Linked DNA regions of Homo sapiens: regions 2, 3, 4 and 5 are each linked to region 1. Evidence: promoter capture Hi-C in 16 types of primary human blood cells and fetal thymus (Javierre and others, 2016). All regions are on one chromosome and are shown on one strand. The core of a region is centred on a gene start or on the middle of the fragment in contact, and the rest is flanking DNA. Distances in the headings are between cores, read along the strand shown. Region 1 holds the start of DNAJC19 (DnaJ heat shock protein family (Hsp40) member C19). Region 2 overlaps TTC14-DT (TTC14 divergent transcript). Region 3 overlaps TTC14 (tetratricopeptide repeat domain 14). Region 4 overlaps CCDC39 (coiled-coil domain 39 molecular ruler complex subunit). Region 5 holds the start of CCDC39 (coiled-coil domain 39 molecular ruler complex subunit).

Region 1 (4,683 bases), core at 1,344-3,843:
ATTCCCGAGGTATTTTAGCTAAAGCTGAATAAAGTTTATAAATAAGTAGCAACAAGTAGTATTTTAATGATCATTAAACAGATTCATTTTTTTCCAGTCAATATGAACTATCTTAGAAATATAAGACAAAATAACAGTGTCTGAAAGCCAGGTCTTCCGGGAGTAAAGGAAAGATCATTCCAAATTAGCCATATTCTAGATAAAAATCTGCAAGAAGTGGCTCAAGAACAGAAGTCTTTTGAGACAAGAGGTTCAAGTGTATTTGAAACAAGACTTTAAGATATATATACAGAAAATACCACTATTAGGTCCTCTGACCTTGCCATGTCAGAAATCATATTGGTAAAGCCTACAATCACTCTATTCTGTTACACTTAATCACAACATATTCAACAGGTGATCACAGCCAAATCTATTCTTAACTGTGACCACAGAGAGTATGACCATAACATCAAGCCAAACCCTATAGCCTAATTAACTAGAGTGCTACCTATGTATGATGTTTGGGAGTGCCAGGGCCACATGGTCAGATCGGATCACTTTAGAATCATATACCTCTGTGTGTGCGATGCAGAGCAGATGAAGGAAAACAAGAATATGTACAGATGATGCTGAAGGTGATGGTATGTGAAAAAGTGAAACTTGGGTCTAGTGGGGTACTAGAATTGTCAAAACCCCATCCAACTCTGTCACATATAACATCTGATGTTTCAGGGTAGCACCATCACAAAGTTCAGAACTTCTATACTCTCCTTGCAGGAAGCAGGAGAATGGGTCCAAAGCAATCACTTAGAACTTCATGGATATTTGGAAATTTACCCTTCCCTAAGTGTGGCTCTAGGTTTCAAATAGAAGCAGCAAAGAATTAACAAAGTCTTACAGATTTTGGTAGGCTTTGAAAAACTTGTTTTACTTGAGGCTCCATATGCTTCATGGCTTGCAAAACGTAACGGCCTAAAACCAAAAGCAACAGAATAAGTAAACTAAATCTCCAATCTCCCCGACTTCACTTCCATCCCCAAACCATAAACAAACCTGCAAATCCTGCAGCAGCAATGGTCAGTCCAACTGCTACCACTGTACTGGCCTGGTAAGGGGGAGAAGAGTAAATATTTACTTCTCTAATTCCCACCCTTTCTCATTTTGCCCATTCTTCCATCCCCAACTCATTACAAACTGCATTTTAATAGGAGAAACAACTTTTTTTTTTCTTTTTTTTTTTTTTTTTTTAAGAGACGGAGTCTTGCTATGTTGCTTAGGCTGGTCTTGAACTCCTGGCCTCAAGCAATCCTCCCACCTTGGCCTCCCAAAGTGCTAAGATTATAGGCATAAGCCACCATGCCTGGCAGAGAAACAACTTTTAAGGCGGAAATATTCTGTCCAGTAATCTTTAAAACTACTGCATCTGTTATGCTGAATGCATTAAAGTTACAGGATTCATCATATGGGAAAGAGGGCAAGTTCGACTTGCTTATTTATCTTTACAATAGTGAAAAAGATGATTCCCTCCCTTTGAAAACTTCTTTCATCACCAGACAAATTAAGTCACATTAAAGTTCAATCAAAAGTAGTGGAAATAGGCCAGGCGCGGTGGCTCACGCCTGTAATTCCAGCATTTTGGGAGGCGAGGCGGGCGTATCACTAGGTCGGGAGATCGAGACCATCCTGGCTACCATGGTGAAACCCCGTCTCTACTAAAAATACAAAAAAAAAAAAAATTAGCTGGGCGTGGTGGTGGGCGCCTGTAATCCCAGCTACTTGGGAGGCTGAGGCAGGAGAATGGCGAACCCGGGAGGCGGAGCTTGTAGTGAGCCAAGATTGTGCCACTGCACTCCAGCCTAGGCGACCGAGCAAGACTCTGTCTCAAAAAAAAAAAAAAAAATGTGGAAATAAGGTTTCTGCTACAGAAGGAAAAACTGTTTACAGACGGCTCCTGTAAAATTCTAACAACGCATTTTCGAGGCTAAACGTGGGCTAAACTAGGAGACTAATACCTTTGGCACTGCCCTGTTGTTTCCTAACAAGACAGGCCCAAATATGTTCAGGAAGCATGGAGAAGACATCTGTCAGCAAAAGCCAAAGAGAAGGACATAGCAAAGTGGAGCTAGTGCTGTGAAGATGTGTTAGGGCAAGGGCACTTATAATCAAATACGTTTCCACTAATCTCCGAGTCCATGACAGCCTCTGACCTTACAGGAGTTCCAGGCAAGCAACACCTGCAGAGCCCGTGCGGACAAGAAGCTGGAGAACCGTGCAGAAAGACGATGTAAAAACACAAACCCCCAAGAGAGCGAGCCAACAGGGTTGTGTCCTGGTGAGTGTGACTCCCCAATAACCGAAACCTCCCGCCCGCAGTCGCACTAAGGAGCACAACTTCAACTCCACACCTCCGAGGCGGGGAGCTGAGGTTGAGGCCTGGGCCGGAGGTCGCCAAGAAGACCGGAAGGCCGCACTCACCATGGCTCCGGCTGGGCTCCCTTGCTTCCACCGGGAGCACGGCTCATCCCAGCTCAGAGGCCGCGGCCAACACCTGCACGCCTTTACCAGAGAGCGACGCAACCCCCAACCTCAAGCACAGGCGCCCTACGCAACACGGCAGGAGCAGCCGCAAACTAGGCCGGAAAACTGTCGTAAAAGGGGACGCGGAGGAGAAGGAAAGTCGCTCAAGCAGTGGACAGAGCGGAGAAAGCGACTTCGGGTTGGTTGAAGGGTGGGCGGATCTCTTTATTTCTGGGTGTAGGGGTGGGGCTTCTCTGTGTTTTCTGTCCTTTGCTCCTGGGCGGTGGGTATTTGGAAATTCTTGCAGGGAAGGGCATGGGCAGCCTTACTCAGACCGATTTTTTCCCCCTACATCTTAGCACCTCGTTTTGCCTTTATTTTATGTTAATAATTGTCAAGGGTAATGAATGTAGTTAAACATGCTGTGACATTTCCACCACGAACCCAAACAAATATGTTGTAACCCAGTGTAGGAAACGAGATGCCCAGAAAAACAAATGAAACCAACCACACTGTGTTTCAGGGATTGCTCGGTAGCATTTTTTAATGTAAAAGAACTTCATTTAAGGATGTGACTTGACAAGACTTTGTGAATATTTGGGTTTTCGTTTTGTAGAATGGGATTAAAGACAGTTCATATTCTGAACATGGAATGTCAAGATCCTACAACTGAAAAGGGCTATTTAAAAGTTTTCCTCCTCACCCAAAATAAAAAGTAGGGCTGGATTTTGCCCTTACGTGGACATCAGTTTCATACATCCCTACATAAATGCTTGAGAAGAAAAAAATAATGGAGACAATAATGGAATTTTACAATGCAACGTTTGCATGATCAAAATAAGTTTGGAGTTACTTCCCACTCAGAATTTACAGTGTTAAATATCCGTTTACATTGCAATGCAATTCTGCTTTGATGAGTTTGTTAGTTATTAAACAAATATGCAAAATTTTTGGGTTTGTTTTCCTCATCTGTAAAAGCAGTTTGCATTTGATAATCCAAGAGCTCTTCTAGCGCTAAGGTTTTTGTGATGTAATTTATTGTCAACACATGATTTAAGGTGACATCCAGCACTAAGACACTAGCATTAAGTTTATAACTTCCTCTTTTGCCTCTCTTTTATCTGGTTTTTACCCAACAATTACAAAATAAATAATCAAGTGAGGCATAAGACCTTGGGACCAAATTGGCATCAACAAGCTAGAATGCTATCTGGAAAAATTTATTATGCATATTTTTGGTATGTACAAACTGTGTAATGCAGTTTCTGGAGGAATAGATTTACAGTAGACTCTAATTAGCTTTGAGACTTTACAAAACCCAGACTCAGGAAATTGGGAGTAGCAACACAGCAAGACATTTTGTTGAGCTGGAGATAGCTCTTTTTTTGGTGGCAGATCAAACTGGAGGTAACCTGGCTCTGTCACTTACTAATACTGTGACTTGGAAAAGTTATTTCTGATTGAGTTTCTTCCTCATTTGTAAAATGAAGGTAATGATAACTACCTTGCCGAGTTTTTGTGAACGTAGAGATTATGCACATATTGTGTTCTGCTTATGGTCATCACTCAGTGTGGGGCTATTATTATGAGGGAAGCCAGAGTGCAAATTGGAGTGTAGAAGCCTTCCTCATTCTCATGATACCTCACTCATGAATCTTAAGTCTGGTTGCCTCTTACCTACCTGCCAAGATCCTAGAAACAGCCTTGAAAAGTAATCTTTTTAAATGTCCACTGACTGATGAATGGATAATCATTCCTCATTTCTTCTAGCTTCTGGTGACTGCCAGCATTCCTTGACTTGTGACTGAATCACTGCAGTCTTGTAAGCCAGCATCTTGAAATCTCACTCTGCTCCAACTTTTCCATCTTCACATTGTCCTTCTCTTCTGTTTGTAAAATCTCCTTCTGGTTTCCTCTTAAAGGATATATGTAATTGCATTTACCAGCTACCCAGATAATCCAGGATAATCTCCCCTTCTTAAGATCCTTAACTTAATCATAGTTTCCAACACTTTGCCATATAAGGTAACATTCACAGGTTCCAAGTATTAGGACCTGAAATCTTTGGAACACATTATTTAGTTTACTATAGAAAGTAATAAAAGACAAAAGAGGGGGTAGGGACAAAAGAATGAGAAAGGACTCAAGCACATCTTCTTAGTTTCTCATCCCAAATTTTTAAAT
Region 2 (4,683 bases), core at 1,348-3,847, 400 kb before region 1:
GATCTAAAAGAATTTTCATCCCTCCCTCCAAGACCTAAGATGTGACATGGTAGGGCTAGCCTTAGAGAGGAAGCATGTCATATGCCCCAAGTGAACATGAGTCTTGCATGGATCTTAGAGAAACTGAAATGAACACCTATGATAGAGTTTTAGGAAAACTGAAAGCTGCATACAACCTAAATGGACAAGTATGCCAAAAATATCACATATGAGTTCTCAGAACAGATAAGGCATCAATGTTTGAAAAAGACAAACAGTTTTGTAAAAGACAGACTTCCAAGAAAAATCTCAGCAGCAATATGCTGTCAATCCACTTAGTATTATCTATATAAAACATATTTTTGTTTAATCATTTTTAATATAATCTATCATAAGAAAATCTGTATCCCAGTTCAACTCTCTTGCTTCCATGAACGCTGGGAAAAGAGTTTATGTAAACCAAGACTATTCCGTAAAACAAATATCCTAGTAAATGGTACAGAAATTTCACTGATACAGTTTGCACAACACTAGCTCCAAGGGTCCTACAGAGACTACTTTGTTATGCAATTTAGAAAATGAGTTATCTTTAATTCAGCCTGAAATAAAAGGTAATGGCAATGGCTTAGAAATATTTTAATTATACAGATATAGTCAAGGTGATGATATTTATTATTGTGAAATTATACTATTTTATTGTGAATTTTTTTCTTCCCTACATCTTTAAATCATAAAAGGGTACTAGATATTTTATTCTGTGGAGCTGATGGAAGCTATAAAAAACAGAATACTTTTCCTTTCATATCCAAGTCCATAGGTTTAGAATTAAGGAACATTTCTCAGGATGAAAGCAAAACATCAGCAATAACCACTCACACTATCTTTTTTCAACTGGGATTTTTCTATGATTTGTTCATTACTGAATTCCCAGCACCTACAGCTATTTGGAACAAGGAGATAGTCAAATAAACGTTAGGTGAATTTCTGAGTTACAATTCTCATATTGATGCTTGTCACTACGATTCCAATGAAAATGGATACAATAAATTCTGGATTATTGGCTAATAAAAAGTCTCAGGAAAAAAATAATAAAAACATAGCCAAACAACTTTCCTAACATAACGGTGTTTCTTTTGTTTGTTAGAAGTGAAATGTGGCCACAGAAATAGACATGAAATGGGTAACAGCAAAAATCTAGGCTGCCACAATTAGGAATGATCTTCGATAGCTCAGAAAAGGAAGTCACCTGGAGTCAATGACCCATGCAAAATCAGTCATCGCATGACCCCAAATTTTTTACTCAGTGCTCAACACATAAATTATTTTTCAGAAACCACCATGGAGGATAAGGAATATCTTTAAGTTCTAGAACTTGAAAGTGGAAAAATAAAAAAGCATTATAAGCTTAGAAATTTTGTTGATAAAGGCCTTTAAATGAACTTAAAGCAATTTTACACCAAAAGACTATGAAATCTCTACCATTCATATTATAACTCTGATGTAAGAAATGATGATGCAACTCAGATATTGGCTGTGTATTAAGTGTGAAACCCAGTAGATTAAACAAGGCAGTATTTCTATACATTCCTAGTTACTTCAGCTGTTCCTCAAATCATGTGATTTCCAGCTGCTTCACCATCATGGGGTTGTAATGCTTTAAATAGGCTTCATTGTCTTAAAATATGGCATTGAAGTAGGACATAATTGCAATGGTTAATTATATGTCAACTTGGCTGGGCCACGGTGCCCAGATATGTAGTCACACATTATTCTAAATGTTCTGTGAGGGTGTTTAGGGGGTGAGATTAACAATTAAATTGATGAACTTTGAGTAAAGCACATTGCCCTCCATCATCTGGGTAAGGCCTCATCCAGCTAGCTGAAGACCTGAATAGAACAAAAGATTGACCTCCACCAAGAAAGAGGGCCATCTACCAGCAGATAGCCTTCAGACTTAAACTGCAGCATTAGCTTTTCCTTGGTCTCCAGCTTGCCAACCTACTCTGTATGTTTTGATTTGTCAGCCTCCTAAATCACGAGCCAATTCCTTAAAATAAATTTCCTTCTAAATATACATATACCCATCGTATTGGTTCTGTTTCCCTGAAGAACCATAATACAAGAAGTATGCAGATATTTGTCCCATAAGCATGGACTACCACAGAGAGACTATTCCTAGTCACAGATACCAATTTTCCCCACTGGGTCACCACCACCAGGATGTGACTGCTGAAGGCCGTGCACACCACCTGGGTGGGGACCCCACACACCACCTCTGTCTTCTGTTTTGATATCACCAACGGCGTGTCTTCCATGGTGGGGCTCTTCAGTGGCAGCTTTAATTTAGGTTAAAAAGAAAGGGGGAAAAAAGGAGTCAAACAGTACAGCCTTGGGGCTCCCAAAAAAGTAGCACCAGGCATTGAAACAGAAACGCAAGGAGGCCCATTCAAAAGAGGCCAGGCGCAGTGGCTCATGCCTGTCATCCCAGCACTTCAGGAGGCTGATACAGGACAATCGCTTGAGGCCGGGAGTTTGAGACCAGCCTGGCCAACATAGCAAGACACCCCCCATCTCTACCAAAAAAAATACAAAAAAAATTAAAAATCAGCCAGGTGCACCTGTGGTCCCAGTTACTCAGGAGGCTGAGGGGGGAGGATCACTTCAGCCCGGGAGGTCGAGGCTGCAGTGAGCTGTGATTACACCACTGCACTCCAGCCCGGGTGGCAGAGCGAGACCCTGTCCCGAAAAAATAAAACAGGAGCAGGGCCGCCCGTACAGACCACACCTGGGGCTTTCTGGGTTAGGGGATCGACTTGCACGTTCACACTGCCAGGCTGGGCGGTGACTTCCTGCCCCTCGGCCTCACCGGTGCCCCGGCCCTGCAGCGGAGGGCCTAGGACCCCCACAGCACGCGGTGCCAAGGCTACGTGGGCTACGGAGGACGCAGTGGTCTGGGGAGGCCCGCGGGTACCCCCGCTTACCAAGCCAGCCGGCATCAGATTCTTATAGGAGTGAATACCCTACTGTGAACTGCACAGGCAAGGGATCTAGGTTGCATGCTCCTTATGAGAATCTAATGCCTGATAATCTGTCACTGTCTCCCATCATCCCCAGAGGGGACCATCTAGCTGCAGGAAAATAAGCTCAGGGCTCCTACTGATTCCACATTATGGTGAGTTGTATAATTATTTCACTGTATATTACAATGTAATAGTAATAGAAAAAAGAGCACAATAAATGTAATGCACTTGAATCATCCCAAAACCATCCCCACTGCCCCAGTCCATGGAAAAATTGTCTTCCATAAAATCGGTCCCTGGTGCCAAAAAGGTTAGGGATTGCTGACTTAAAGGTAACCTCTCCAGCCATCATTTGCTGTGTATGAGGGAGAGGGGGCTGGAAACAAAAAGGAAAATATATTACTTGGTTGAGTTCTCAGTATCTTCCTGTCTATTTTATATATTGGGCTTCCATCTTAAGAAAGTTAAAACAAAATTGAAAGCAGTTTTCAAACATATACACACATAGCAGCAGTCATATTCTCAATATATTTGCTATTATTCAGTTACATATTTACATATGCATACATGTATATTTTATATATTATATACGTGTGTATGTGTGTGTGTGTGTGTGTGTGTGTGTGTGTGTGTGTATAAAGAAAGAGAGATTAAAGGGAGAAAGAAAAGGATGACAGGTAAGCAGAGTTTTTTATGTCTTAGAAGAAATACACATGCAGAGGAAATGAATGCATAAGATTACATAGTTTGATGAAATTAGTCATTAAAAAATACCCAACAGGCTGTTTTTGTTCTTATTTTGGGCTCACAAACAAGCTTCTGACTGAAGTTGGCTTTCCACCGGAGAATATATTGATACTTCTACGAGTTTCTGATTCACATAACATTTACAGTTCATCCTTAATACATTGTCAACGTGATTTCTAAATCAGTGTTTAATTTGGTTAGTGTGTATCAGTATGTCGAGCTTACAGTTCACCCTTAATACATTGTCAGCGTGATTTCTAAATCAGTGTTTAATTTGGTTAGTGTGTATCAGTATGTCGAGCTTACAGTTCACCCTTAATACATTGTCAACGTGATTTCTAAATCAGTGTTTAATTTGGTTAGTGTGTATCAGTATGTCGAGCTTACAGTTCACCCTTAATACATTGTCAACGTGATTTCTAAATCAGTGTTTAATTTGGTTGGTGTGTATCAGTATGTCGAGCTTACACTTCACCCTTAATACACTGTCAACGTGATTTCTAAATCAGTGTTTAAGTTGGTTAGTGTGTATCAGTATGTCGAGCTTACAGTTCACCCTTAATACATTGTCAACGTGATTTCTAAATCAGTGTTTAATTTGGTTAGTGTGTATCAGTATGTCAAGCTTACAGTTCACCCTTAATACATTGTCAACTTGATTTCTAAATCAGTGTTTAATTTGGTTAGTGTGTATCAGTATGTCGAGCCTTACTTGAATTTCTGCACTTGAAAAACTAAGGATCAGTGTCCAGAACTCAATCTACCTGATGGAACTGCCACACTGAGACTTCCAAACAGTGATCAGCCAATCTCCCCCTGTGACTTCTGTGGCTGGTCCCTTTTCTAACTACAACTAAAGGAACTGTAAAGAATCTCATTCATTTAAAGAGACCAGCCACAGTAGGAAGCCACACTTACCAGTACTGCAATACAATAG
Region 3 (4,683 bases), core at 1,342-3,841, 380 kb before region 1:
ATAGGAACTTCTATTTAATGATTGGAGCAGCTTTTTACATACTTACTAGGTGGATAACTAGTAACTACTTATATGTGGTTGTCTTATAGCCTTGTATTGATGTCTTTGAGCTGAGTGAATAGCAATACCCTGTAGTTACCTAAGCCAGAGATACTGTTCATCTTTGACTTGTCCTTTGTTTCCCATATCCAGTCTACTGACACAAAAGTGATCCCATTGTATTTGTTTTATAGTAATTTCTTTTTCCTTCTAAGAACCCAAAGCACTTTGCAACATCTTTTGACTGCTTTATGTCCAAACTTTCTCATTCTGGTGTTTCACAACCCAGACTTGTGAAATTCATCTAATGATTATGCTATTTACAGGCTCATTGTGATATATGTGTATGTTGGTATTTCCAAAGATTTCCAAAATTTTCTGTAGATAATTTTTCATAAACTACTAGGGAAAAAAGCCTGCTGGTATAATTCTGTGCTAAAATTCAAGATCATACTAAATTTGTGGACACCCATTTATCATGGGTTTTTGTGTATTACTGCAAAAATGTGCCAATATTGGACATATACCTTTAGTTACTAGTAAGATTTCTGTTTATGTGGTCTATGAAATAAATTACAGTAAAAAGCATATTATTTTGGTATTTTATTTTGGAAAATAATTTACTTGGCTTTTCCCTAATAAGCTCTCTCATATAAGCCTTTGACCTGTATGCATATTTGGATAGTTTTGTTGTTTTTACAAAAAAGCTAAATCTTTCTTTCAAATTTAGGTTAGAAGAAGAAGAAAAGTTTTTAAATGCTGAAAGTTACTATAAGAAAGCTTTGGCTTTGGATGAGACTTTTAAAGATGCAGAGGATGCTTTGCAGAAACTTCATAAATATATGCAGGTGATTCCTTATTTCCTCTTAGAAATTTAGTGATATTTGAAATAATGCCCAAACTTAATTTTCTCCTGAGGAAAACTATTCTACATTACTTAAGTAAGGCATTATGAAAAGTTTCTTTTTAGGTATAGTTTTTCCTAATTGGGTTTGACATTGCTTCATAGTGCCTCTGTTTTTGTCCATAATCGAAAGTAAAGATAGCTGTGAGAAAACTATTACCTAAATTTGGTATGTTGTTTTGAGAAATGTCCTTATAGGGAGCTCACCTGGTGGTTTTTAAATTATTGTTGCTACTATAATTGAGCTAATTATAAAAACCTTTTTGAGACATATTTTAAATTGTCTTTTCCTGTAATACTGATGATGATGTTTTCTCATGCATTTTCTTCTGAATTGGACCATTGCTGCTGTGTCTGTGACATCTGGTGCTGCTCATCCCCATCCACAAACTGGAAAATGATTTCCTATGTAATCATGCATCCAACTGGGCTGTGCTATTTTTTTAAATGGTTTGTATTTGAACATGGTGATTCCTCCTTCACTTCACCTTAACGGAATGTCTTTATTTGAATTTTATTTGTAAAATGTGTCCTGTTTAAATTTTTCAATCTTTAAAAATAATTTTTATGTACTTTTTTTTTTTTTTTAACCTTTCTTGCACTCTGGGTCATGGGTACCACTGCAATGGCTTCCCCTTTTTTTATGGGATACCAACTGCAATATGGTCCTCAATGCTGTTCTGGCCATTTCAATGACTAATGCCAAACATCTGTATGACTAATTTTTTTATGTTAAAAAAATACTGTTTAATGCTGGCTCTATGGTGATTTGGTTTTACTAAATTGGGTTTCTCGTTGGGGGTGGTCTTTTGAATACTGGGTTTTATATATTCTGCTATTTTTAACGTGTGGTTTTTTTCGATATCTGGGTTCTAAAAGAAATCTTTGGAATTAAGAGAAAAACAAGCTGAAAAGGAAGAAAAGCAGAAAACAAAGAAAATAGAAACAAGTGCAGAAAAGTTGCGTAAGCTCTTAAAAGAAGAGAAGAGGTAAACTATAATATTCAGTATTTTTAAACTTAAGGCAACTACTGAATTGAACCCAAAGTGCCATACTGGAGGTAAAGTAAATAAAAATATGAAAGTATTTCAAGTGCCAATCAGTGACTGTTAAGAATCTTTAGCAAATATGTGTTCCATGTATTTTCTTATTAAAGAGATGAAGTGGAATTTAAGGCTAGAATTCTACAAAAAAAGAGTATCTTAGAATTAAAATATAGAATAAGTTACTTTAATTATGTTTTAGGAAGAAATATTTTAGAACTAGAGCAGTGGTTCTCAACTAGGGGTGGATTTATTCACCCGGGGACATTTGACAAGATGTGGAGACATTTTTGATTGCCATAACTGATAGGGTGCTACTGCATCTAGTGTATAATGGTCAGGGATGCTCTTAAACATTCTGTAATGCACAGGTCAGCTCCCACCCGCACCCCCACCCCCTACCAAGAATTATTTGGCTGAAAATACCAATAATCAGGTGAAGAAACCATGAACTAGAGGTAGCCAAATAAAAAAGTTGAGTTCTCCTTTATGTGTTCAGTAGTCTTAAGTTTTTAAGGTAGTGTTGAAAAAAGTCTGTCTTTCAGAGATGATGGATTTGCTTACAATGATACCTGTCTGCAAGCATTTTTTCCCCCAAAAGTGCTTAATAGTAAAATTAGATCTTGTAGTAGCCGAGATTATTGTATCATTTATCTGAACCACAGCTTTTATAAAATCTTTAAAGGAAACAAATAGGGCCCACATCTTTATGAATAATTTAGAAACATTTTTGTATATATATGACAAATGAACTGTTTTTTTTAGGCTAAAGAAGAAAAGAAGAAAATCAACTTCTTCTTCAAGTGTTTCTTCTGCTGATGAATCAGTGTCTTCATCATCATCCTCTTCCTCTTCTGGTCACAAAAGGCATAAGAAACATAAGAGGAACCGTTCAGAGTCTTCTCGCAGTTCCAGAAGGCATTCATCTAGGGCATCCTCAAATCAGATAGATCAGAATAGGAAAGATGAGTGCTACCCAGTTCCAGCTAATACTTCAGCATCTTTTCTTAACCATAAACAAGAAGTGGAGAAACTACTGGGGAAGCAGGATAGGTTACAGTATGAAAAGACACAGATAAAAGAGAAAGATAGATGCCCTCTCTCTTCATCTTCACTTGAAATACCGGATGATTTTGGAGGTAGGTCTGAAGATCCAAGAGATTTTTATAACAGCTATAAAACCCAAGCAGGTAGTAGCAAAACAGAAAAGCCATATAAATCAGAAAGACATTTTTCCAGTAGAAGAAATTCCTCAGATTCCTTCTGTAGGAATTCAGAGGACAAGATTTATGGTTATAGGAGATTTGAAAAGGATATAGAGGGAAGAAAAGAGCACTATAGAAGGTGGGAACCAGGTTCTGTGAGGCATTCTACCTCACCAGCAAGCTCAGAATACTCTTGGAAGTCAGTTGAGAAATACAAAAAATACGCTCACTCTGGATCACGTGATTTCAGTAGACATGAGCAAAGATACCGTTTAAATACAAATCAAGGAGAATATGAAAGAGAGGACAATTATGGGGAGGATATCAAAACAGAGGTTCCAGAAGAAGATGCACTAAGTAGCAAAGAACACTCAGAAAGCAGTGTTAAGAAAAATTTACCTCAGAATTTACTGAATATATTTAATCAGATAGCTGAATTTGAAAAAGAAAAAGGAAATAAGTCAAAAAATTAATACACCAAGGATATCGGCACCATTACACAAAATGCCATTAAGTGAAGTTTTTGGTTGTATTAGTCATAACAGTTGAGTGCAGAAATCTCTGCTTCTAAAATTATTTGTAGAGATTACAGGAAACAAATGCTTTTAAGTAAGTTTTTCTCAAATTTTGTTTCAGTTCTAGGTCCCTTGTCACAGCTTGGTTTTTAGACTTTTTATGTATATGTTTATGTACAGTATATTACTCTTGACAGTTTGAATTTCTTCACCTAAAGATAATTCTCTGAAAGTACTGTTTCTTCATTCTATTGCGGTATATGAGAATTCCTGGGTGCATCTTATTCTGCTGTTTGAGAGAAAAATTTGTGCATTGAACACTTGGATCATTTTTATAAAAATTAATTTCATTTTCTTTTCTGTTAAATTAAAAATCGTCAGCTTTTGAAAGATTATATGTTCGAATGTTTCTTGAACACTTTTATATTTATCAGTTTAAATATTACATTTTTTGCCCAATTTTTTTTAAAATTTTTAAATGGTAGATTATATGTCTTAATTTTCCTCTAAAGCCCAATTTGATTAAAAGTGGTTTGTGAACAGTCATTGGCTTCCACCCAGCATAAGTGCCTTAGGAATAAGATCATAAAAGTTGAATAGGAGCCCATTTTGCTTATTTCTCCATTATTTTTTACCTCATTGCTAGCATAGCCATAAAAAGCTTTTTAACTTTAAATATTTACAAGGCCCTTAGGGCCTGTATTCCACGCAAGGGTAAATCAGAAAAGAAAAAAATCCTTTTAGCAAAAACATAGCAGTAGCAGAGAAGCACATTGTAAATCTGGCTTTTCTTTAGGGAAAGAAAATTGGGAGACTCTCCTAGTGTAGCAGATGTTCAGTCCAGAAGGCACTAGGCATGTCGTTAAATCTGACCTGCATTTCTTCTTACCACCTCCTGTGCCTTGATGCTTCTCTGATGACCCCTTTCTCAGAGTCTGAATAAATAACTAGACCAACTAGAGCCTGGTTTTACTAAG
Region 4 (4,683 bases), core at 821-3,320, 360 kb before region 1:
GATACTAGAGTTGATGAAAAAGCCATGTATGCCCCATAGAACAAAGACCAAAGACAGGAGCTTACTACAAGACCAAAGACAGGAGCTATGAATTGAGCTGTGTCCCTTATAAGAAGATATGTTGATATCCCAACCTGTGGTACCCCAGAAGGTGACCTTATTTGGAAATAGGGTCTTTGCAGATATAGTCAAGTTAAATGGAGGTCATTAGGTTGGTCCTAATCTGATATAACTGGTATCCTTATTAAAATGGGAAATTTGGACAGAGGGAAAACTGTGTGAAGAGACACAGGAAGGAACACCATGTAAAGATGAAGGCAGATTTCAGGGTGATGCATTTACAAACTAAGGAACACCAAAGATTGTCAGCAGACCACCAGAAGCTAGGAGAGAGGCATAGAACAGGTTATTCTTCATAGCCTTCAGAGGAAACCAACCCTATCAACACCTTCATCTTGGACTTCTAGACTCCAGATGTATCAGATATATATTTCCTTTTTTTTGAGACGGAGTCTCACTCTGTCGCCCAGGCTAGAGTGCAGTGGTGCAATCTTGGCTCACTGCAAGCTCCGCCTCCTGGGTTCATGCCATTCTGCCTCAGCCTCCCGAGGAGCTGGGACTACAGGTGCCCACCACCACACCCGGCTAATTTTTTGTATTTTTAGTAGAGATGGGGTTTCACCATGTTAGCCAGGATGGTCTCGATCTCCTGACCTCGTGATCCACCCACCTCGGCCTCCCAAAATTCTGGGATTACAGGCGTGAGCTACTGCACCTGGCCTGAGACATATATTTCTGTTGTTTAAACCATCTAGTTTATTGTATTTTGTTACAGCAGCCCTAGAAACTAATAAAAAGGGTCAACAAGCTTTGTCTGTAAAGGGCCAAATAGTAATTAGACTTTATGGGCCATTCAGTCTGTCGAAACTACTTCATTCTGTCATTGTAGCATGTAAGCAGCCATAAACAATATATAAATGAATAAGTGTATGTATTTTGTCTTCCAGTACTTACTTACAAAACAAGTGGTGGGCAGCATTTGGCTGGAGTGCATAGTTTGCTGAGGCCTCATCCACAACATTCAGAAAACACAACAGTGGTTAGCATTGTAATCAAATTCCTATTACCCACAGCCATAAACATAATATATGTATCCATCAGGAGAGATCCCTTTGTAGATAACATAAGAAGAATAAGGGAAGGGAAAAAATTTTGAACTGACTAAATTTAAATCCTAAATCTACTACATCAACAAACAGAATCCACTACGTTGGAAAACAGACTTACATTGAAAAAACAAAACTTAACTTCTAATTGGCAAGGTTTGTCCCAGCAGTGAAAATGCCAAGGTACTATTTTCAAATAGTTAAAAATTCTTATACAAATATGAAATGAACTTTTATTAAAGGTTTTACTCAACTTGTTAATGAAGAGCCAGTAAGATATTTAGACTTATTTCAAAGAAGAATATGAAAACAGATTTTATATTATAGACATGTTGAATCAGAAATGCTGACATGAATTTGCTGGTAGATGCAAAACATATTAATATATTTTAGTGTAATAAACTTCAGTGCTTGGGTTATCTTTTCTACAGAGCAGAGTTGTATTTCTACTGGCCAAAATTCATTTACATTGTTAGCAGCAAGATATCACTTACGTTACTATCAGTTGTCTGCAAGTTAGTTATCATCTATACCTACAGAGTTGTAAAATAAACTAGTCAATAGAGAGTCGAAGGTCTGCACTCCTATAGAATCAGATAATACCTGGAGGGCCCACTAGAAAATGCCAACACCTTGGTATCACCATGCACTGGCATCATTGCACCCATGGTTTGCTTTTCTCTATTTTTCAGGCCATAATTTTTCCTGATATAAGCTAGACTGAGTTTAGTTATTATTTAAGTTTCATTTTTACACATCTGAGACTTGTGAAGTGTTACCAGTAAAAAGTGTAAACATGCTATACAACAACAACAACAAAAAATGGGAATAACTGCGTGGCAAGCTGTGGATCCCAGAGAAGATGGAAGATAAGAAATATGGCATCAGGACATTGAGAAAGTAACTGATAGCCTCAGTTCATTTAGCATAATCATTATTCTGATATTTATCCAGCACTTTCACTGTAAACAGAAGGAATATTCTTTCTTCATATAAAACTTGTCTGTGTTCCTGTGAGTTAGGTTAATCAGCATCATCACAGTAATAATAATAACTAACATTTATTGAGGACTCATTTTGTGCCAGCCACCGTCCCAAGGGCTTTACATGTATTTTCTCTTTTCTCCCAACAAAAGTAACAATATTACCCTCTTCATTTTCCAAGTGAGGAAACTTAGGCCTCACATGGTTAAGTAACTTATTCCTGGTCACCTACCGAAGCAGTGGTAGGATATGGATGAAGGCACACTTAACACCAGTACTTTTAGGTAACCCATCACACCACTTGTTAGAGAAACTTAATTGGAATTGCAACATCTTCCGATTTCCCAATACCTAAAAAATTAGAGCCTACCCTTTATCCTTCAGGAACTTTTAAAACCTGAGAGGAGAAAAGTCCTGTTTGGGCAGAAGCCTGAGGTATTACAGACTGACAAGTTATAAGAAAGTTTTGAGAGCTGGGACTGATTTCTCATAGGGAAGGCAGAATTTCAAGCAAAGTGACAGGCATACCATACTTGCTGCATTTGTTAGGGGCAGATTTGAAGAAGAGCTACAGGAGAAAATTTGGCCAATTAAGTTGGTAGAAATCAAAGGGAGAGAGCATCCACAAGAGCCATTCTCTGAAGGTGTGAACTGGAAGATGATCTCACCCCTATTCATGTATGGTACAGGGAAGTGAGTCAAAGTTACAAGTTCCATCCCTTGTTTGTAGCATTTTGAGTAATTTCCTAGACCTTTCTGTAAAGGAAATTACTCCTGTTCAGGGTATTTTCTACATGGGAAAGATGAATATAGCAGTGCTTAGAGAATAGCATTCAATTCCACATCACTTAATGAATTTCCCCTTTGGGTTAAAGATAACCATGGGATGACAGACAACTGTCAAACATCAGAAAAAAACAGATTCACCTGGTCTGTCTCCCTATAATATCATATTATAGGGATATATGGGCAGGGAAGCAGCCCTCTTCCTCTCTGAACAGCTGCCATACCAGGACTCTAATGGTAAACTGGAGTTTAAAATTCAGAGGTGGTGTAGCTCCAAGAAATGCTAAGGTCCAGCCAGGGTGTGGCATAAGAGTGGGTGGCTATAGTGAAGTAAAGGAAAGCTTTAAGCCTCAATTGTTGAACAGGTTGTCACATGCATACCAAAGACACTTAGAGTGATAATAGGTCTTAAAAAGATTACGAATCTTGCCTAGGAGAAATGACATTCTGCAAATAATAGCAAAAAGAAAAAAGTGTCAAAGAATGGTCAAGTAGAATGACCTGAACTCAAAAGAGGAAGACTTCTGGAGCAAGTTCACAGTAAGTTTTGGGAATCAGAGGGCAGTGCTTGACCTCACGGACTAGAGGTATATAGAATGAATACTGCTTTCAGTATCTCCATTTAGGAATGAATGTTTTGGCCTTTGTTAAGTGTAATAGTGGCCCTAATTAAGTGAAATAGTTGCTAGATTTCATGGAGGGAAAGTTGCAATATTGTTGTTTTTTTATTTAAATTCAGAGGATTATGATGAATGAGTTAACAAAGAAAATTTCATACCATCACAACTGTGAATCAATTAAAATTACCTTTATTACATAATAGGCCTGTGTTTTCTCCTCTTCTCCTTCAGGAGGCAGCATAACAACAGTCAGAATTTCATATCTATTCTTCAGCTTCTCAATTTTACTTAGCCGCTCGCGAAACTCAGTGCTAATAAGAAAAAGAAACACTGAGAAATGAATAACATACTTTACAATTTTTAAAGGACTATCAAGTGTTCTTATTGAAGACATTTGGATTTGTGTTACTACTAAACTCAAACAGGTTAAATTTGTTCTCACGTTTTAATTTAATAAAAAGACTATCAGGTGTTCTTATTGAAGACATTTGGATTTGTGTAACTACTAAACTCAAACAGATTAAATTTGTTCTCACGTTTTAATTTAATAATTCAGTGTGAAGGATCTGATATTTACCCTACTTGAAAGCTGACAAGTTAGCCTGCCACAGTTTCATTGTGTCTTTTGCTGGCAGAAGACACAATCCCTGTTTCAGAGACAACGGACTTTATTTCTCATGACACAGCAAGAAGCATAAGATTCCTGTTTGACTGGCTCCCCTTGCTCCCTACATCCCATGGGAGCAAGAAGGGGCTCAAGTGGATGCTGCAAACAGTAGATTTGCATCACAGCTGAGGAATCTCAAGCCTAGGTAACCCAAATATTTTATAGTGGGAAATAAGCAAACATGCCTAACTTTTGCTCCAGAAGGAGATACTACCTCTAGTTTCTGAGGCTGTTTGCTATTCAAACGTCTTTAAAAAGATAGTCCAAACAGGGCGGTTGAGAATTGTCTTCCAGAATTCAGATTCTTAAATCTGTTGGTTACTTTCTCCTTTTATTTCAGTAAATTTATATTTTATGAGCTATTTTTTAGAACTTAATACTAGTAATCTTAATATATGCCTGGCAATATGGAGAGTGCCTCAACTGCCTGCTACAAACTCATGCAAGTAAGCTCTCTAAC
Region 5 (4,683 bases), core at 582-3,081, 310 kb before region 1:
TCTTCTCTCAAATACTAAAATAAATATTTTGTGTTAAATACCGCATATATATAATTCCATTATAATACTCATTTTTCTCTTCTTTCTGTATATCTGTATACCAAGATGTCTGAAATGTGTGTTTAATGCCATGGTAATCATTTCTACAGTACAGTGGACACTTTGGAGAGGAAATACCTTATGTTTTTATCTCATACCCTTCTATTCTGTTTGAATATCTTAAATTTACAGGAGTTGCTTTTTAAATGTCAGAGTTTAAAAAGCAATTTAATTTAATGCAATTGTGGTGCTCATTTTTCTTCTTTATATGGCTCTATACTTTTTTAAAAGAGCTAATATACTTAATATGTACATAAAAATCCTGTGTGACACATATTATGGCAAGAATACTAAAACCTAAAATTTGGATGGAACCTTAACCCATATTATGTCCCTAGAGCCCGCGAAGTAATTAGTTTGTTCATCTCCATCTCCGCTTTACAAAAAAAGAAGCAGGATTAGGGTTGGTAAGTAGGATCTGAACCCAGGGCTGGATACTTAGTATTAATTCCTCGGTACTCAGTGCTAGATCCCTTACATTTCCTAATATTGCCCTCCTTTGGGGAAAAATTGCAGTCTTCTAAATTACACATGAGTAAATAGGTCAGAACGTGTTAAAAAGCATTTCCATTGTTTTCAAAAGGTAGAGTAACAGGATTTTCATTTTCCTTTTTTAGAGCTGAGAAAACTTTCTGTTCCGTTTTACAAAGTTGTGTAAGCATCATCTGTTATTCTTGGACCTTCTTCTACACAACATATCACCACCAAAGTTTTTCAAAATTTGCTGACCCGGTTGCAATTTTTTATTTTTTTATTTTTTCGTAGAGACGCGGTGGGAGGGGTTTGTGGGGGGTCTCGCTTTGTTGTTCAAGCTTGTTTTACTCCTGGCTTTTAGGGTTCCTCCGCCTCAGCCTCCCAAAGTGCTGGGATTACAGGTGTGAGCCACTGCGCCCGGCCTGCAATTTTTTTTTTTTTAACAACTGCTATGAATTGTAGTTAGTGTAAGTTCGTCCTTGCAACGTAAAATTTCTTATGTTAATCTGTGACAACTCAATCTTCTCTTTGAAAAACTGTAAACCGCACATTTCATTCTTACCGGGCTGTTCCTCTTGAAAACATCTCAAGTCACTTTCAGCTTTAAACATTACAGACAAAAACTCACAAAGAAATATGAACCTTCTGGAGTTTAATTTATAAACGTGCGCAAATAACCGTTGCTATGCAAACCTCAGAAATTCTTTTCCAAGTAGCTCTTTAATTTTTGAGCAAGGAAAAAGCGGGCGCCGGAACCAGCCTTTCCTCTCTCGCCAGGAGGAACGAAATAAGTAAGAGGAGTGGGCATGAGGAAGGGAGTAATAATTCGAGCTTTATAACCCTAAATGTCAATTATGGTTTTAATAGCATTTTTAAATGCTTAACAATTACTGAAATAGGCAGAGAGGGTAAGGGAGGAGGGCGATGGTGCGGGGGAGTGTTAGAGGAAGCACAGGATTAGGAAAGGAGAGAAATAAAAGGGCTGGGGTAGTACTGCCAACCAGAAAACGCCCCCAACAGGCTCTCTCTGCTTCCTCCCGCCTGCTTCAATTGATCTCACCTGATCTTCCAGTAGCTTGTTCTCCTCGTTCGCCACCGGGATGGCGAACCCATCCTCCCAGTGCAGCTCAGCCAGGAATTCGCTACTCATGACTGCAAACGGATAGAGAAGATACAGAGCAAAGATCCGCCTTCTTGTACAGCGGGTGAGCAGCACCCGCGTCAAGCCCAGGCACCTGCACAGTGCCGCGGCAATTGCCGGGGGAGCCCTAGCAACCTTCCCGCGTCCTTAGTTACCAAACAGGAAACGCTCCAGCCCGAAGGCGAAACTTCCGGTTGAGAACTCCCTGCCTGCAGGCCGAAGAATCTTTTTCTTACCTTGAGCACTGAGGGATGAGCAGCAACTTGCCCCTCCCGACGTTCCCGGGGGTTGCCAGGCGGCAGCGTAACTTTCCACGAAAAGGCGGCTCTCGGATCGCTCCCGGAGCGTGTGAAAACTGTGGCCCCCGGAGCTGGCTGGAGGACCACGGGGCAGCTGGCTGGAAGTAAACCACACGATCCTCCGATTGCCTGGGGGAAGACGGGAGCCAACAGGGATTATAAACTAAGTTTCTTTTCAAGGTGTGTTTGCTGTGTTGTGTAGATTTCAGCTACTACAGTAGGTGAAAGTAGACCGAAGTGAACTGGTGTTTGGAAACAACTCTCTCTCTGGCATCACTGGGATGTTCTGATCGTCGCCTGTTTCAGTCGGCCAGCCTTCCTCACCGCACTCACCGGCCCCATCGCGGATGTCCCAGTCGATCACAGACGCGGACCGCGCGGAGGCCGCACACTTGTGGCGCGGTGTGGTGGTCCCTCCGGCACCACTCCCATACTTGCATTTTTCTTTGCATTTTTGTTTGCTAACATTTAAAGTGTGGAATTTCGCATAAACGTCTGTATTTCCTCTGCTTGAAAAAGGGTAGGTGACACAATCCCCATTATCAAAAGGCAATGTTCCGCTGGAGAGGCGCCCCCTTTAGACCAACAAAGCACTTTACCAGTTCACTAATTTGAATTACCTGCTTGGCACGGGTAGGCATTTGAGTTATAGTCTCTCTTGTATAGTATCTCAGAACTGGAAAGGACAAAACAATCAACTAATCTAATCCTTTCATTTTCTCGGTAAGTTAAACCGAGGCTCCTTGAGGCAAAGTGATTAAAGAAGGGATGCTGTGCATGAATTAATTTTACGTATCCAATAATCATCTGTAATTTTTTTTGCTCTTTCGAATTTTATTTTACCTAGACATTGTTAAACTTTTATTATAAATATTTTAAATGTATATGGGAATAGAAAGCAGAGTATAAATAACTGCTATATATGCATCACCTTGATTTAGCATTCATATTTTGCCATGTTAGCATCATCTGTATCTTTTGCTCAAGTGAAAAAATAATCATAGACATCATGACATTACAGCCCTAAATACATGAGCATGTATTGGTAGAAGAGTGGTTAATGTTATCTAACATAAGCACAATATCATTATCACACCTATAAAAATCAACTATTCTTCAATATCATCTAATAACCATTTCAGATTCATATTTCGACTGTCCTAAAAATGTCTTTTTACAGTCGATTTGTTTGTCACTATAGTTCTGAAATCCTCCTGTAGGAGCTTTGTCTCTTTGTGCCTACATTGTTTTCCATAAACTTAATCTTGTGGACTTAGTGCCTTTAAAGACTAGAATTAGCAAAGCATTTTATTCCCCCTTTCTACAATGATTAAAGGCTGGGGAGAAAGGCTCAACTTGTAGAAGAAATTTGACCTGCATGTAATAGTGGAATTTTAGATATAATGACATTTAATCCTTTATAAATGATCATTACTTATTTTATAATAGTTTAGTCATTCCAACTAATGAAAATGTTAGTATTCAGCTTATGTTAAGATGGTACATAGTTATTTATACTTGGGATATGTTGTGGCAATGCTGCTTTCTAAAATTATTGGTGTTGGGTCAAAGGTGGGGAGGAAAATGGCAGAACAAGACTTCCAGCAATCAGCCCTCACAGAAACATCAATTGGAACAAAACTATTCACCTACGAAAATACCTTCACAAGAGCTAAGGAAACCAATCACATTTAATTACCTTTTAATACAGCAAAAAGTAAAAATAAAATAATTGGTATTATCACCCATGTATCTTAAAATTACCTAATTTACCATCCCAGTTTTTAATATGAATACTGAGCTGCCTCGACCTGTGCCAATGAGTTGAAGCACCCCTCTCAGTGTCAGCTGTAGCTGCCAAATGCATGACTGTGGAGTCTTTTTCATCTTTCCATTAATTTTACTTCTAGGAATACGTCCTACAGAAACAGTTACATAGGTAAGTTCCATGCCCTTATACCGCACGGGCATAAGAAGTCTAGCAACTGAAGCTCTGAGAATCCCATGTCTCATTTCTCAAAGATTCCATTTCCTGAATTTGAGGATAACAATTATATGATATTTACTTCTAGATGAAATGCCCATGCTTTCTCCAAATTCTACAATTCTGCCTTAAAATGGTATCTCATTACAGAATCTCGTATCACCTAGTTCCCACTCGAATTCTACAAGTTCTAGACCATAACTCTATTTGCATTCATCCAGATCTAGCTTTGGAAACAAAACCCATAGTTTTATAAGCTTTGTTGTTGAAATGCTCAATTTAATTCCAACATGCTAAAGAAGATGTTACCCTTTTACTGTCTTATTCCCTTAAATTCACCAAATCAAGTTGCGCAGGCTAAAACATAAAGTTTATTTGTTCTGCAAAAATAATGTAGAAAAAATACTTCTATGTATGAAGTAAAAGAAAAAGATGTATTTCACCTCCATGCCAATCCTACTTGTAAGAGAGTACCACTGTTTAGTGTTTACCTAACCAGCATTTTTAAATGAAGCTATAAATATTTACATATGTCAATTTTGTCCTACATAAATATAATCATATAGTAAATATTATTCTGCAAATCCATTCTTTTCACTTAACAATAGTGGCCATGTTTCCATGTCAGTACATTTAGATCTACCTTAGTCTTTTTACAGAAGCTTAAAATTCAGTATTATCAATTA

Evidence for each region. The method cuts DNA at HindIII sites, captures the fragments that hold promoters and counts their contacts. A CHiCAGO score of 5 or more calls a contact.
Region 2: a fragment that was not itself captured here is called in contact with the fragment with the promoter of DNAJC19 in region 1 in 2 of 17 cell types (total B cells and non-activated CD4 T cells); the score reaches 7.0 in total B cells.
Region 3: a fragment that was not itself captured here is called in contact with the fragment with the promoter of DNAJC19 in region 1 in 5 of 17 cell types (naive CD8 T cells, total CD8 T cells, non-activated CD4 T cells and 2 more); the score reaches 10.9 in naive CD8 T cells.
Region 4: a fragment that was not itself captured here is called in contact with the fragment with the promoter of DNAJC19 in region 1 in 3 of 17 cell types (total CD8 T cells, naive CD4 T cells and non-activated CD4 T cells); the score reaches 7.9 in total CD8 T cells.
Region 5: a contact is called between the fragment with the promoter of CCDC39 here and the fragment with the promoter of DNAJC19 in region 1, in 1 of 17 cell types (naive CD8 T cells). The highest score is 6.6, in naive CD8 T cells.

Annotation. Positions count from the first base shown.
Region 1 is chr3:180,987,143-180,991,825 of GRCh38, forward strand. DNAJC19 (DnaJ heat shock protein family (Hsp40) member C19) reads right to left here and starts at 2,594. Exons shown (of 6, transcript NM_145261.4): 1 at 2,458-2,594; 2 at 1,036-1,087; 3 at 881-954. The coding sequence starts at 2,460. The HindIII fragment of the contact is 8,604 bases long and covers 1-4,683 here.
Region 2 is chr3:180,587,750-180,592,432 of GRCh38, forward strand. The region is part of intron 1 of TTC14-DT (TTC14 divergent transcript); the gene reads right to left. Among named protein-coding and RNA genes, the nearest start is that of TTC14-DT, 12 kb to the right of the region's middle. The HindIII fragment of the contact is 2,432 bases long and covers 1,382-3,813 here.
Region 3 is chr3:180,606,879-180,611,561 of GRCh38, forward strand. TTC14 (tetratricopeptide repeat domain 14) reads left to right here. Exons shown (of 12, transcript NM_133462.4): 10 at 770-887; 11 at 1,823-1,932; 12 at 2,752-4,252. The coding sequence ends at 3,664. Among named protein-coding and RNA genes, the nearest start is that of TTC14, 7.1 kb to the left of the region's middle. The HindIII fragment of the contact is 3,548 bases long and covers 818-4,365 here.
Region 4 is chr3:180,627,726-180,632,408 of GRCh38, forward strand. It overlaps CCDC39 (coiled-coil domain 39 molecular ruler complex subunit), which reads right to left. Exons shown (of 20, transcript NM_181426.2): 14 at 3,744-3,867. Among named protein-coding and RNA genes, the nearest start is that of TTC14, 28 kb to the left of the region's middle. The HindIII fragment of the contact is 2,409 bases long and covers 867-3,275 here.
Region 5 is chr3:180,677,658-180,682,340 of GRCh38, forward strand. It overlaps CCDC39 (coiled-coil domain 39 molecular ruler complex subunit), which reads right to left and starts at 1,832. Exons shown (of 20, transcript NM_181426.2): 1 at 1,634-1,832. The coding sequence starts at 1,723. CCDC39-AS1 (CCDC39 antisense RNA 1) reads left to right here and starts at 2,424. Exons shown (of 2, transcript NR_046725.1): 1 at 2,424-2,533. RefSeq lists enhancers at 2,104-2,203, 2,284-2,333. The HindIII fragment of the contact is 3,343 bases long and covers 910-4,252 here.